3 separate regions of the Homo sapiens genome follow, and all the other regions are linked to region 1. The links are contacts of gene promoters, found by promoter capture Hi-C in blood cells and fetal thymus (Javierre and others, 2016). All regions are on one chromosome and are shown on one strand. Each heading gives the region's core, a stretch centred on a gene start or on the middle of the fragment in contact. The rest is flanking DNA. Distances are from core to core; before and after follow the strand shown. Region 1 holds the start of GFPT1 (glutamine--fructose-6-phosphate transaminase 1). Region 2 overlaps GMCL1 (germ cell-less 1, spermatogenesis associated). Region 3 has its middle 45 kb from the start of ANXA4.

Region 1 (4,093 bases), core at 874-3,373:
GTCAAATTATTTTTTTATTTACTTTTTTTTTAACTTTTTTTTTTTTTTCTGAGTTGGGGACTTTCCAGTCTTTACTGAAAACTTTTAAAAATTTGTATTTAGACAAATTCTAAAAGACCTGTAACACTAGTTTCTTCTTCTCAACTGATTCATAAATATCTTCCAAAATAGTTTGTTGAGTGGAGATGGATAAGACAAATTGATAGTCATTGTGGTGGAGTAGCAGGCAGAAGAAGAAAGCAAAGGGTTAAATAGATTACTATAGTTGGAGCATGAGAACTCTGGTAGTACTGCTGACATTTTCTTTGTGGCATTGACAGGTTTGCTGCCAGTGCACAAAGATGTTGCTTAAGCATTGGAACCATACCTTGGCTTTTAGGTAATACAACGGAGTTCTAACCAGAGCCTTAGATGAGGGTTCTGAGGCTAGATGTATATCCACAGTCTTTTGTTTCTTGAATTAAGAAATGTATTATTACCAAAAAGCTCACTGTTTTTTTTTTTTTTAAACTTTGCTCTGGGTGATCCAGGGACCTGTTTAAGGGATTGAAATATCAAAAGGGCTTTTAGGTGAGAAATACTCTGCTTAGTTAAATGTGACATTTTTCAGCTTCTCTGAGGCAAGTGAAAAAAGGCACTTTTCCCCGTAAGAAGAACTGAAAGCCTTATGCTCACTTAATCATATAACCAGCCATAGAAGGTTAATTCCGCTAAGAAAATAGGACTTTTTTTCACTCATTCCAAAATAAATTTGATCTTTTACTTTGTGCTGTGGTCTAAAAGTGTTGGGTATGTAAAATCTAGTTCTAGCTTCAAGAAACTTACAGCCCAGTGGGAAAATACAGAAAATCATAAAATATCAAAGAATATTTCTTTACAGTGAGTAGCTCAAAGAGTAAGAGGTTAATGCATGTCTCCAAGTCTGTCTAGGGGGGATAAAAAAGGCTTTCCTGAAGAGGTAGCATCTAAACAGAGACGTGGTGGGGATTCTATGCAGAGTAACCAAAGTGTGCAAAAGATTTGAGAATCTTGGCCCAGTTGAGGAACTACCTGTTGAGCCTGTTGGGAGTGTATAGGGCTGGAAGGACGGCTAAGACCAGACACATGAACAGCAGTCAGCAGGCTAAGACCAGACACATGAACAGCAGTCAGCACTCCAGGAATTCTGTGTGCCATGTACGTTTTTGATACTACTCTACTCTAGAGCCATTATAGAGTTCTGATTACTCCACATTTGACTAAAGATACCATTTAAGGCTGTTTAAAGCAAATGCCCAGGTAATAAATTCTCAGAAACATCATCCCTCTCTAATCAAGTCTCTCTTGTCAGACATGGCGCATTAATTCATAGAATGAATCGTTCGTAAGTCAAACGCGCGGCTGTTAAAGCTAGGGAATTCCTAGCCGTCTCAGGTGGGTCATGGGAGGAGGTGGGCCAGCAGTTTCTTACGTCCAGGCTCATAGTCGGATAGTTGAGCCTTACATTCCTCCTCTACCCCTCCACAATAAACTGAGGGTTATGGAGGCAACGGATGCGGAGGGCTTTTAGGGGCCAAGCATATTACACAAGGAATTGAATTGCTTATTACCAGAGAGGCTGACCTTTGGGGCTTTACAGTCAAGAATTTTGTTATCTCTCTCCTCCCACCTCAACCTAATTCTTTGCAATTTTTTTCAGCCTTATGTTCCCCAGGATTCCCTTTTCATACTTCCTGCTTTTTTCCTCCTCTTTCCTCGCTTCGTGCAGTGCTGGCGCCTGGGGCCTGGGGCTGCACGGGGCACGCACCCGGGCTATTGCTTTGCTAACAATTCCATCCTTCTCTTTCCGTCATTCCCTGCCAGGTGCTGAGTTTCTCCCTCCCTCTCGGCTCGGTCCCTCCCGCGGCTCGCCCCGGGGCGGGCGTCTCCAGGAACTCCAGGCGGACGCGGCCACGAGCCACTGCCACGTCGCCGCCGCCAGCAGTCCAGCGCCTGCGTGGGCTCGGGGGGCGGGGCAGCGCTGGGAGGCGGGACTTGCGCGTGAGCGGCGCGTGAGCGGTTCAATGGAGCCTACGGGCGGCGGCGCGCTGCGCGCCGAGGGGCGGGGCCCGGCGGCGGTTGCTGGCGGAGCCCGGGAGGCGGAGAAGGCTGTCGTTGCCTTGGCCGTCGCATCCCCGAGGGAGTCGTGTCGGCGCCACCCCGGCCCCCGAGCCCGCAGATTGCCCACCGAAGCTCGTGTGTGCACCCCCGATCCCGCCAGCCACTCGCCCCTGGCCTCGCGGGCCGTGTCTCCGGCATCATGTGTGGTAAGGGGGCCGGGAGCGGGGGGCGTGTTGCCGGGTGGCGCTGGGGTGCGGTGCGGGTGCCGCTAAGGCCCAAGGCGACGGGCGGAAGCGGGAGTGTGGAGGGTGCGAAGTCTGGGTGATGGGCAAGGGGCGCCCAGTGGTGGCTGCGGGGGCGGGGGCCGGCATCCACGGGCGGGAGAGGGGGTGGCGGCCGGGAGAAAGGCACCTGAGAGGAAGGCGGGCCCCCTTTGCCGGGGGCTAGCGGGCGCCTTGGCGCGGAGAAGGAACCGAAAGGGGAGAGAAACGCCTTTATTGAAAAAGGAGGAGAGAGCTGAGGGAATTGAGGTGTGGAGGGGGTTGCCTTCAAAAGGGCCCACCAGGTGAGTGAGGAAACCTGTGGAACCTCGGGCGAGGTCTCTTGAACTTACCTTGCATTTTTCTAAAAATCTTTAAAAAAATATTTTACTTGTTTCTGGGGAGGCCCAATAGAAAACAGACCCTAGCTAGAGCCACGGTAGTGCCATTAAACGTGATACTTCCTGCCATCCCTTGTCTCAACAGAAACCATTGCTAATCAATAACTTGGTTCATGGGCTTAGACCTGATCCTCTGGTGGAAGAGGCCTTCAAATGTCTGTGGCGATAGGTTATACATAATTTATCATTTGCGTGTGCACCCATTAAAAATGCCAGCTCTGAAAAATATCAGTTATACCTTGGATGTATACCCCTTTAGAATACCAACTATGAAAAATATCATTTATCCCTTGCATGTGCATCCATTAAAAATACTAGCTATGGAAAGTTGAGCAAATATCTTTCCTAGAGCCTTAAAAAATTAAGGTTAGGCCCTTTTATTCCATGTTTTGAGAGTCGTTTATTATGACCTAAGTGTTAGTGAAAGAGACTTTGAGAATCGTGTCTGACATGACTGATATCTTCTAAAATTGGTGTTAATTTGGCTATTGCCAGTAAAAATAATTGTATTCTTACCTTTCTTATTGAAATTTACAACCGACTTTATCCCTGGAAGAAAGTACACTTTTTTTTTTTTTTTTTAAAGGGAAGTACCATTGTAAGAGAATTGAAAACTCTCTGGGAGACTTCTTATTTGCAGCCTTTTACACGAAGGAACTGAACAGGAGGTGGATTGTACTCGTTAGTGTATATATTTCCTGTATTTAACTTTATGCTCATTTCAGCTTCTGAAAATGAGGAGCAGGTTTAAATTTAGAGTAGATTAAAAAAAAACCCACATAAAAACAGAAACACCTATAAATAGCTTACTGAAATTATTAGAGTAGAGCTGACTTCAGAATCAGACTTTTGCAGTGTCTACTTAGTAGAATGGTTTTGCATTTAGTTTGGAGCTGTGAAGTAGTGAATTTGCAAACTGGTCAATCTCCAGTGTGCTTCATTTGGTAGTTAACTGTTCCTGAATGATGAGGGGTGTGCCTCATCAAGTACTCAACATTCTGGTTGCAGGTCATTTCATCATGTTCCAAGAAAAAAACGTAGTCAAAGTACTTACTGAAAAAAAAATAAATAAATAAATAAATCAGCGCTGGGCGTGGTGGCTCCCGCCTATAATCTCAGCACTTTGGGAGGCCGAGGCAGGTGGATCACCTGAGCTCAGGAGTTCAAGACTAGCCTGGCCAACGTGGTGAAACTCCATGTCTACTAAAAATACAAAATTAGCTGGGCGTGGTGGTACGCGCCTGTAATCCCAGCTACTCGGGAGGCTGAGGCAGGAGAATTGCTTGAACCCAGGAGGTGGAGGTTGCAGTGAGCCGGGATCGCGCCATTGTAATCCAGCCTGGGTAAAAAAGA
Region 2 (4,093 bases), core at 1,112-3,611, 450 kb before region 1:
AAATTTAGTATTATTTTTGTCAGTGGATATTATTAAGAGAATATTTCCTTTATATTAACGAGAGCATTTCCAGTTTTAAAACTTCATTTTGAGTTTGTGTTAAATAGTTTATTAAGGGGTCTGCATACTAGTATAACCTTCTTTAAAATCTCAAAACAGGTACTGCAACTCTCAAGAGTTAGAAGGACTGTCAGTCTATCAGGCCTACTTCTTAAACAATTTTAATAGAAAATATACTATAAAGTGCAGTGGCATGATCACGGCTCATTGCAGTCTTGAACCTCCTGGGCTCAAAGAATCCTCTGACCTCAGCCTCCAGAATAGTGGGGACCACAGGTGCATGCCACCATGCCTGGCTAATTTTTAAAATTTTTTGTAGAGATGGGGTCTCCCTACATTGCTCAGGCTGGTCTTAATCTCCTGGGCCCAAGTGATCTTTCTGCCTTGGCCTCCCAAACCACTGGGATTACAGGTGTTAGCCACCACACCCGACCAAGGTGACCATGGTTTTTATAAGCATGTATATAACCCACCTATGGTCACTTACAAAGACGACACTTTTGAGGAATTTACTAATTAGTCCAAAAGTTAAAAGGGGCTTTTTATTTAATAAAATTCCATCCCCCTATCCTATTTTTCCTTAATTCTTTCTTTCTTATAGCTATACATTCTCTTAAGAAACTAAAGCAACCAAATTCCTAAAAGTGGGATAGGAAGAAAAACAAGAAAGGCAACTCACTTTTTCTTTACAGAATCTAATCCATAGGTCCCTGCTGATGTGTAATAGCCACATACAGTTTTCACATTAACTGTTTCCTTCATTGTCTCACCACACTGCTGTATTAAACCGTCCTGTAAATATAAATAAGCACTGGAAAGGCCCATTTCACGTGGGAAAAATTAGCTCTGACAGCTTTTACATATTAAAAAGTAAAAGAAAAAAAAAAAGAAGAAAGAAAAGAAAGAAAACTCATTAAGTGCAGCAAACCTAAGTTTTTTTTTTTTTTTTTAACAAGTCCAATAAAAATACTGAAAAAAGTTCAGCAAGTATTCAACTAAATACTTGGAATTTGAAAATGGAAGGTGGGGGGGAGTAGTAAGGTAGAGAATGAATACTGCTATTCTTTTTCTTTTCTATTCTTCCCCTGTCTGAGACCTTTGCAAATTTCTTTAGCAGCATTTTGTCTGTTTTGCCATTTCTTTTTAAATTAAGAAGTCTACATAGTCAGTTAACCATGTGATGGGACTAAACTAACAGTATGCATTAGCAGAAAGTGATCAAGTTTAAAATAACTACAATATCTAAGAGATAGACTTAAAACAAGTATATTATTATTTCAAATGATTAACATTAAAGTTTTAACCTAAAATGTTTATATAGGTTTTAAGTGAACTAACTTTAATATATGGGAAGAATACTACTTTTCATTCAAATTTCTGAAATACATTCATCATGCAGGTATATTAAGTTAAAGAGTTAGTAAATCATAAAAGTAAGCAGAAGGTGAATTTAGAACAAAACCAAAAGGACCAGAGTTAGATAATAAAGTATACTTATTGGAAGTAAGTATTGAAAGGATCAAAACATTTTGAAAATCAAATGATCTCAACCAAGGATATTTAGCAAGCTATTAATACTTCAAATAAATCAGTACAAAAATACCACATAAAAGTAAACAATTTTTTAAGATTAAAATAAAACATTGACTCCATTAGGATTTTAAACTTACCTGGAAATCATTCTAGACTCCTCCCCTTTCCTCTTAACATTTAGTCTATCACCAAGTCCAGTGGATTATCCCTGAATCTCTCTGGTATCCACTTTTTCCCCTCCAAGCTTATTGCTACTACCCTACTTTCCTCCCTTGGACGAATGCAACAAGTTTTTGTCTCTAATGCTGTACTCATCTTTCCTTCAATTCATCTGTCACATTGTTACTGAAGTATTCTTTCTAAAACATAACTTCGTCTTTCCCCTGATTAAAATATTCCAAAGGTACTGTGTATGCTAAACTTCTTAGCAATGTATAGATGTATTTTCATGATCTGGCTTCTGCCCCCCTCTTCTGCAATCCTTCTTATGTTTATGTGGGAGCCATGTTTCTGTTAGAGTCTTGAATCCTCCATTATTTCACATCACTAGATCTTAGTTTACTCTGTTCTCTCTGTCTGAAATGCTCTTCCTTCCCCTCTTCTTACTTTGCAATACAAACACACTTTCAAGACTCTGTGTGAAAATGTAACTTTCGTATGTGACACCACCAGGATGAACTGACCACTCCCTTCTTTATCCATTCACTAAATGCTACAGGATGTTTATTATCATACCTATAATATTGAACAGCTCTTACTTTACCTTTGGGTTTGTATATCAACCCTCCCTCCCCTCTCCACACATACATACTATGTTGTGAACTTTTTGAAAGTAAGGATTACGTCTTAAGTTACCTTTGGCTTTCTGTGTCTAGTTTGACACAGTGCTCAACACACTTCTCTTCAATGAACAAATCTGTCATTCTGCCAGTAGATTAAAATACATATATGTGATTTATACACAATTCTTTCAAAATTAAGAGAAATTTAAATAGTAGGCATGCATGTTTATTTGAACCCATGAATGAAATTAATTGGTAATCATAAGCCATCTGCTTAATAGTCAAGTCATTAATGAAATCTGTAAATGACCTTAGACAAGTACGTTTTTTCCACATTATAGTCATACTAAGATATCTACACAGAAATGGCCTGCATTCATTTTATGCAGACATCATGACTCCCTCGGTTGTAATAAATTGCTTTTGGTTAGGCATTTTAAATGATTTATAATAAATGTCATATTTATACATTTCATTTTTATTTAAAAACTCCAAAAAAGCTAAGCTTTATTTTTGTTTTTGGAGTACACACTTTGAGACAAAGATTATTATTCTGAACCTTTCTTCGAATAACGTGCATACTTACCAACTGCAGCAAACAAGCTGCTGCCAAAATGGCAACAACTCGACTGGGCTTTATCAAGACATCATCTCGATACAGTGAACCAAATGCAACCTGCAGTGCTGAAAGCAAGGTACACATGTAGGATGAAATAATATTTATATCTATTACAAGTGTTATACAAATAACAACAACGACTGTCTTCACACACAAAGACATCCGTCTAAATGTGGCATGCACATAAAAGGATAACAGAAGTATCTCTAATTAAAACGCTAGTAATGGTTACTGGTTGACACTGTTAATTTAATAACAAGGTTATAAATTTCTGTTTATTCTACCAAATCTAGCTGCATTCTTCTAACATGTAATCTTGACATCAGTGGTCACAACCAAGATGCCTTGCAAGAAGTTGTATAAGATACTCCTCAGTAGACCAATCGTTAAGTACAAATACGCAGACTCAAAGATAATCTTAACCCGGCTGCTTTCAGCACTCCACCACTGAGAAATGTGGTACAGCTCCTGAGTCCTGTCCATGCCACACTCATTCCCAGCCCCCACAGTGATCTATGCCTGTTCATCCTTCCTCCACTGCCACTGTTATGAATGTCCCACATGGTTTGCTTTGTAAATATTCTTTTTTTTTTTTTTGAGATGGAGTCTCGCTCTGTCGCCCAGGCTGGAGTGCAGTGGCGCGATCTCGGCTCACTGCAAGCTCTGCCTCCCGGGTTCACGCCATTCTCCTGCCTCAGCCTCCCAAATAGCTGGGACTACAGGTGCCTGCCACCACGCTTGGCTAATTTTTTGTATTTTTTTAAGTAGAGATGGGGTTCACCATGTTAGCCAGGATGGTCTCGATCTCCTGACCTTGTGATCCACCCACCTTGGCCTCCCAACGTGCTGGGATTACAGGCTGTAAATATTCTTAACTAAAGTATTTCTTTGCCTTTGTATCGCACCAGGTACTTCCATGTGGACCACCAATGAGGGGAGCAGCAAGAGCACTGGAATGGGAATGAGGAGAGCTGTAGTCTGACACAGGCTCACTAAACTGCTCTGAGATCCAAAATAAGTCCCTTAACTCCTCTGAGCCTCAGCTTCCTCAACTAAGGATTCTTTTAGCTCTAAAACAATATTTTTATTTATTGTTCCC
Region 3 (4,093 bases), core at 503-3,002, 310 kb before region 1:
TCTTGAACTCCTGGGCTCAAGTGATCCTCCCACCTCAGTCTCCAAAGTGCTGGGATTACAGACATGAGCCACCACACCTGGCCCTAAGTTTCTTACTATGTGGGTGTCCTCTAACTTTTCACATGTGCTTTCCACATCTTTGATCTTTTAACTCCCTTCTCTGAGTGCACAAAATAGAGAAAAGAGCCCTGGAAGGTGGGGCCAGGAGACCAAAGTTTACCCTGGCTCTGCCACCAGTTTACTGAGTGGCTCTAGGCCCAGGTCCTCCTCTATGTCATGAACATGAGCGCTAGACCCCACCCCACACACTCCCACTGCCAGTGCTGGTGCTTGGCAAAGACCATCACATCCTCCTCTTTACCCATGATTCATATCTTCAGTTGTCCCCCCTCACCCGAATCTTTCCTTCAATCCATCAGCTTTTTAAGATATTAGTATAGTCTATTTTCCAGGCTTTGTTGTTTAGCTCTTGTTCCACTTTTCCTGCCTTATCCTCTTATATCCTTTTGATTCTTTCAATCAATATTCCAAAGCATAAAAATAAACCTAGTTTCTTTCTACTTCTTCTCCCTCTTCATTGAAATTACAACTCAAAACCACCACCCTCTTGCAGAGCTTTATGAATTAGTAGTTGTATCACCATCTTGAGAAGCAGAGACAAAGCTTGGTAGCGCAGAAAGGACACAAGCCTCAGAGTGACAAGGACCAGAATTGAATCCCCCTCATGATCGAGTCTCAGTTCCTTCATCTGCATAATGGAGACAGTAACAGTTCACACTTGCCCATCGCACAGTCCTGCCCCGCCCCACCTAGTCAGAGCCGACAACGCAGCTTGTCCCCAGGATCCATTCCTTCCATAGGTGACACTCCTGCCCCCAGGCCCTCTGGTCATCCTTCTCTGCCGCCCTAGGCTCCCACTATCTGCACCTCATGGCTGTCCCCACTCTGTTCTGGCCTTCTCAATGAATAAAAGCTCCCTGTGGAGAAACAACAGGGAGATGTCGGGGGAAGAGGCCAGCCAAGGAAATGGAGGGAGTTGAAGGGCAGTTTTTTAGCTCCATAAATTTCTGCGGGTGGGGGCTTCCTAGAAAGCTGGGCTTCATCTTCCATCTGCTATAGACTGAATGTTTGTGTCCCGCAAAATTCATAGGTTAAAATCCCAATCCTCAAGGTGATGGTATTAGGAGGCGGAACCTTTGGGAGGAAATTCATGAATGAGCAGAACCCTCATGAATGAGATTAGTGCTCGTATGAGAGAGACTCAGAAGAGCTTCCTTGCTCCTTCAGTCATGTGAGGACAGAGCAAGGTGATAACAACTATGAACCAGAAAGCAGGCCACATCAGACTCTGAATCTGCCAGTGCCTTGATCCTGGACTTCTCGGCCTCCAGATCTGTGAGAAATAAATTTCTGTTGTTTTTAAACCACTCAATCTATAGTATTCTTTTTTTTTTTTTTTTTTTGAGATGGGGTCTCACTGTGTTGCCCAGGCTAGCCTCAAACTCCTGGGCTTAAGAGATCCTCCCATCTCAGCCTTTCAAAGTGCTCAGGTTATAGGAATGAACCACTTTGCCCAGTCCCTGAGCCACCACACCTGGCCCCAGGTATCTTTGATGTTACCATTGTTAATGTTTAGGGCACCATAAACTGTGCCCATACAGAATAGCAAGCTTAATTAATAAATGTTATATACTGACTGCTCCACTGCTCAGACACAACAATATTGACATTAGGCCAATTAACAACCCTACGATGGCCTCTCAGTGTTCAAGTGAAAGGAAGAATCATGTGCATCTCTCATTTTTGAATCCGAAGCTAGAAATGATTAAGCTTAGTAAGCAAGGTGTGTCAAAAGCTGAGACAGGCCAAAAGCTAGGCTTCTTGTGCCAAACAGATAGCCAAGTTGTGAATGCAAAGGAAAAATTCTTGAAGGAAATTAAAAGTGCTACTCCAGTGAACACAAGTATGATAAGAAAGCGAAACAGCATTGATACGGAGAAAGTTTCAGTGAGCTGGATAGAAGATCAAACCAGCAACAACATTCCCTTCATCCAAAGCCTAGCCTAGAACAAGGCACTAAACTCTTTTCAATCCTGCGAAGGCTGGGAGACGTAAGGAAGCTGCAGAACAAAAGTCTGAGGCTAGCAGAGGTTGCTTCATGAGATTTAAGGCAAGAAGCCATCTCTATAACATAAAAGTGCAAGGTGAAGAGGCAAGTGCTGATGGAGAAGCTGCAGCAAGTTATCCAGAAGATCTAGCTAAGATCATAGATGAAGGTGGCTACACTGAACAATAGATTTTCGATGGAGATGAAACAGCCTTCTACTAGAAGAAGATGCCATCTAGGACTTTCGTAGCTAGAGAGAAGTCAATGCCTAGCTTCAAAGGACAGGCGACTCTCTTGTTAGGGACTAATGCAGCTGGTGACTTTAAGTTGAACATGGTGCTCATTTACCATTCTGGAAATCCTAGGACCCTTAAGTATTATGCTAAATCTACTCTGCCAGTGCTGTATAAATGGAGCAACAAAGCCTGGATGACAGCACATCTGTTTATAGCATGGTTTACTGAATAATTTAAGCCTGCTGTTGAGACTTACTACTCAAAAAATAAAAAAGATTCCTTTTTAATATATTACTGCTTCTTGACAATGCACCTAGTCACCCAAGAACTCTGATGGAGATGTACAAGGAGCTGAATGTTGTTTTCATGCCTGCTAACACAACATCCATTCTGTAGCCCATGGATCAAGGAGTGATTTTTGACTTTCAAGTCTTGTTATTTAAGAAATACATTTGTAAGGCTGTAGCTGCCATAGATAGTGATTCCTCTGATGGATCTGGGCAAAGTAAATTGAAAACCTTCTGGAAAGGATTCACCATTTTAGATGTTATTATAAATACTCATGATTCATGAGAGAAGGGCAAACTATCAACATCAACAGAGTTTGGAGGAAGCTGATTTTAACTCTCGTGGATGACTGTGGGGTCTGAGACTTCAATGGAGCAAGTCACTGCAGATGTGGTGAAAATAGCAAGAGAACTGGAATTAGAAGTGGTACCTGGAGATGTGACTGAATTGCTGCAATCTCATGATTAAACTTGAACAGATGAGAAATTGCTTTCTGTGGATGAGCAAAGAAAGTGATTTCTTGAGATGGAAGCTGCTTCTGGTGAAGGTGCTGTGAGCAGTGTTGAAATGACAAGAAACGATTGAGAATGTTCCATAAACTTAGTTGATAAAGCATCAACTAAGGGTTTGAGAGGATGGAATCCAATTTTGAAAGGAGTTCTCCTGTGGGCAAAATGCTATCAAACAGCATCTCACAATACAGAGAAATCTTTTGTGAGAGGAAGAGTCAATAAATGCGGCAAATTTCATTGTATTATTTTAAGAAATTGCCACAGCCACCCAACCTTCAGCAACCACCACCCTGATCAGTCAGCAGTCACCAGTGTTGAGATGAGATCCTCCACTAGCAAAAAGATTTCAACTCACTAAAGGCTCAGATGACTGTTAACATTTTTTTTTAGCAAAAAAGTATTTTTAAATTAAGGTATATACTTTTTTAAGACGTAATGCTATTGCACACTTCATAGACTGCAGTATAGTATAAACATAACCTTTCTATGCACTGGGAACCAAAAAATCTGTGTGACTCACTTATTCCAAATATTTGCTTTATTGCAGTGGTTGGGATTGAAACCCACATAAACTCTGAGGTATGCCTGTATCTCAGAGGTAAGATTGCTGTTTGGTTGGAGATTAATCTTACAGGGTAAGGTAACTCATGCTTTCAGTCCACTGTTGGAAAGGCTTCTCCCAAGGGGATGCCAGCTCTCCCCAGCGTGGTTTCTCCTCCACTTCGTTGCTTCCATTCAATCACTGTCAAGAAGAGCATGCGGGTGTTGTTTTATTTCACACTCATGGGCTGCTGTTCTATGCTGCTTATTACAACACTTTCCACAACTTCTTTTTTCTCCCTCATCTCCAAAAATAGCAAATGACATTGCATGCCCAGATTTTCCACCTGAGTTTGTTTTTCATTTTTGAGGGAAATCAGCACGGGTGCTGAGTGCTGCCTCAGCACCAA

What was found. Contacts are between HindIII fragments. The CHiCAGO score rates a contact against its expected background, and 5 or more counts as called.
Region 2: a contact is called between a fragment that was not itself captured here and the fragment with the promoter of GFPT1 in region 1, in 1 of 17 cell types (total B cells). The highest score is 5.2, in total B cells.
Region 3: a fragment that was not itself captured here is called in contact with the fragment with the promoter of GFPT1 in region 1 in 1 of 17 cell types (naive B cells); the score reaches 6.1 in naive B cells.

What each region holds. Positions count from the first base shown.
Region 1 is chr2:69,385,257-69,389,349 of GRCh38, reverse strand. It overlaps GFPT1 (glutamine--fructose-6-phosphate transaminase 1), which reads left to right and starts at 2,123. Exons shown (of 20, transcript NM_001244710.2): 1 at 2,123-2,285. The coding sequence starts at 2,279. RefSeq lists silencers at 1,704-1,813, 1,874-2,543 and an enhancer at 1,772-2,331. The HindIII fragment of the contact is 6,543 bases long and covers 1-4,093 here.
Region 2 is chr2:69,839,908-69,844,000 of GRCh38, reverse strand. GMCL1 (germ cell-less 1, spermatogenesis associated) reads right to left here. Exons shown (of 14, transcript NM_178439.5): 4 at 2,962-3,059; 5 at 740-852. Among named protein-coding and RNA genes, the nearest start is that of GMCL1, 12 kb to the right of the region's middle. The HindIII fragment of the contact is 1,043 bases long and covers 1,840-2,882 here.
Region 3 is chr2:69,695,349-69,699,441 of GRCh38, reverse strand. It overlaps a transcript of ANXA4 not described here. Among named protein-coding and RNA genes, the nearest start is that of ANXA4, 45 kb to the left of the region's middle. The HindIII fragment of the contact is 160 bases long and covers 1,673-1,832 here.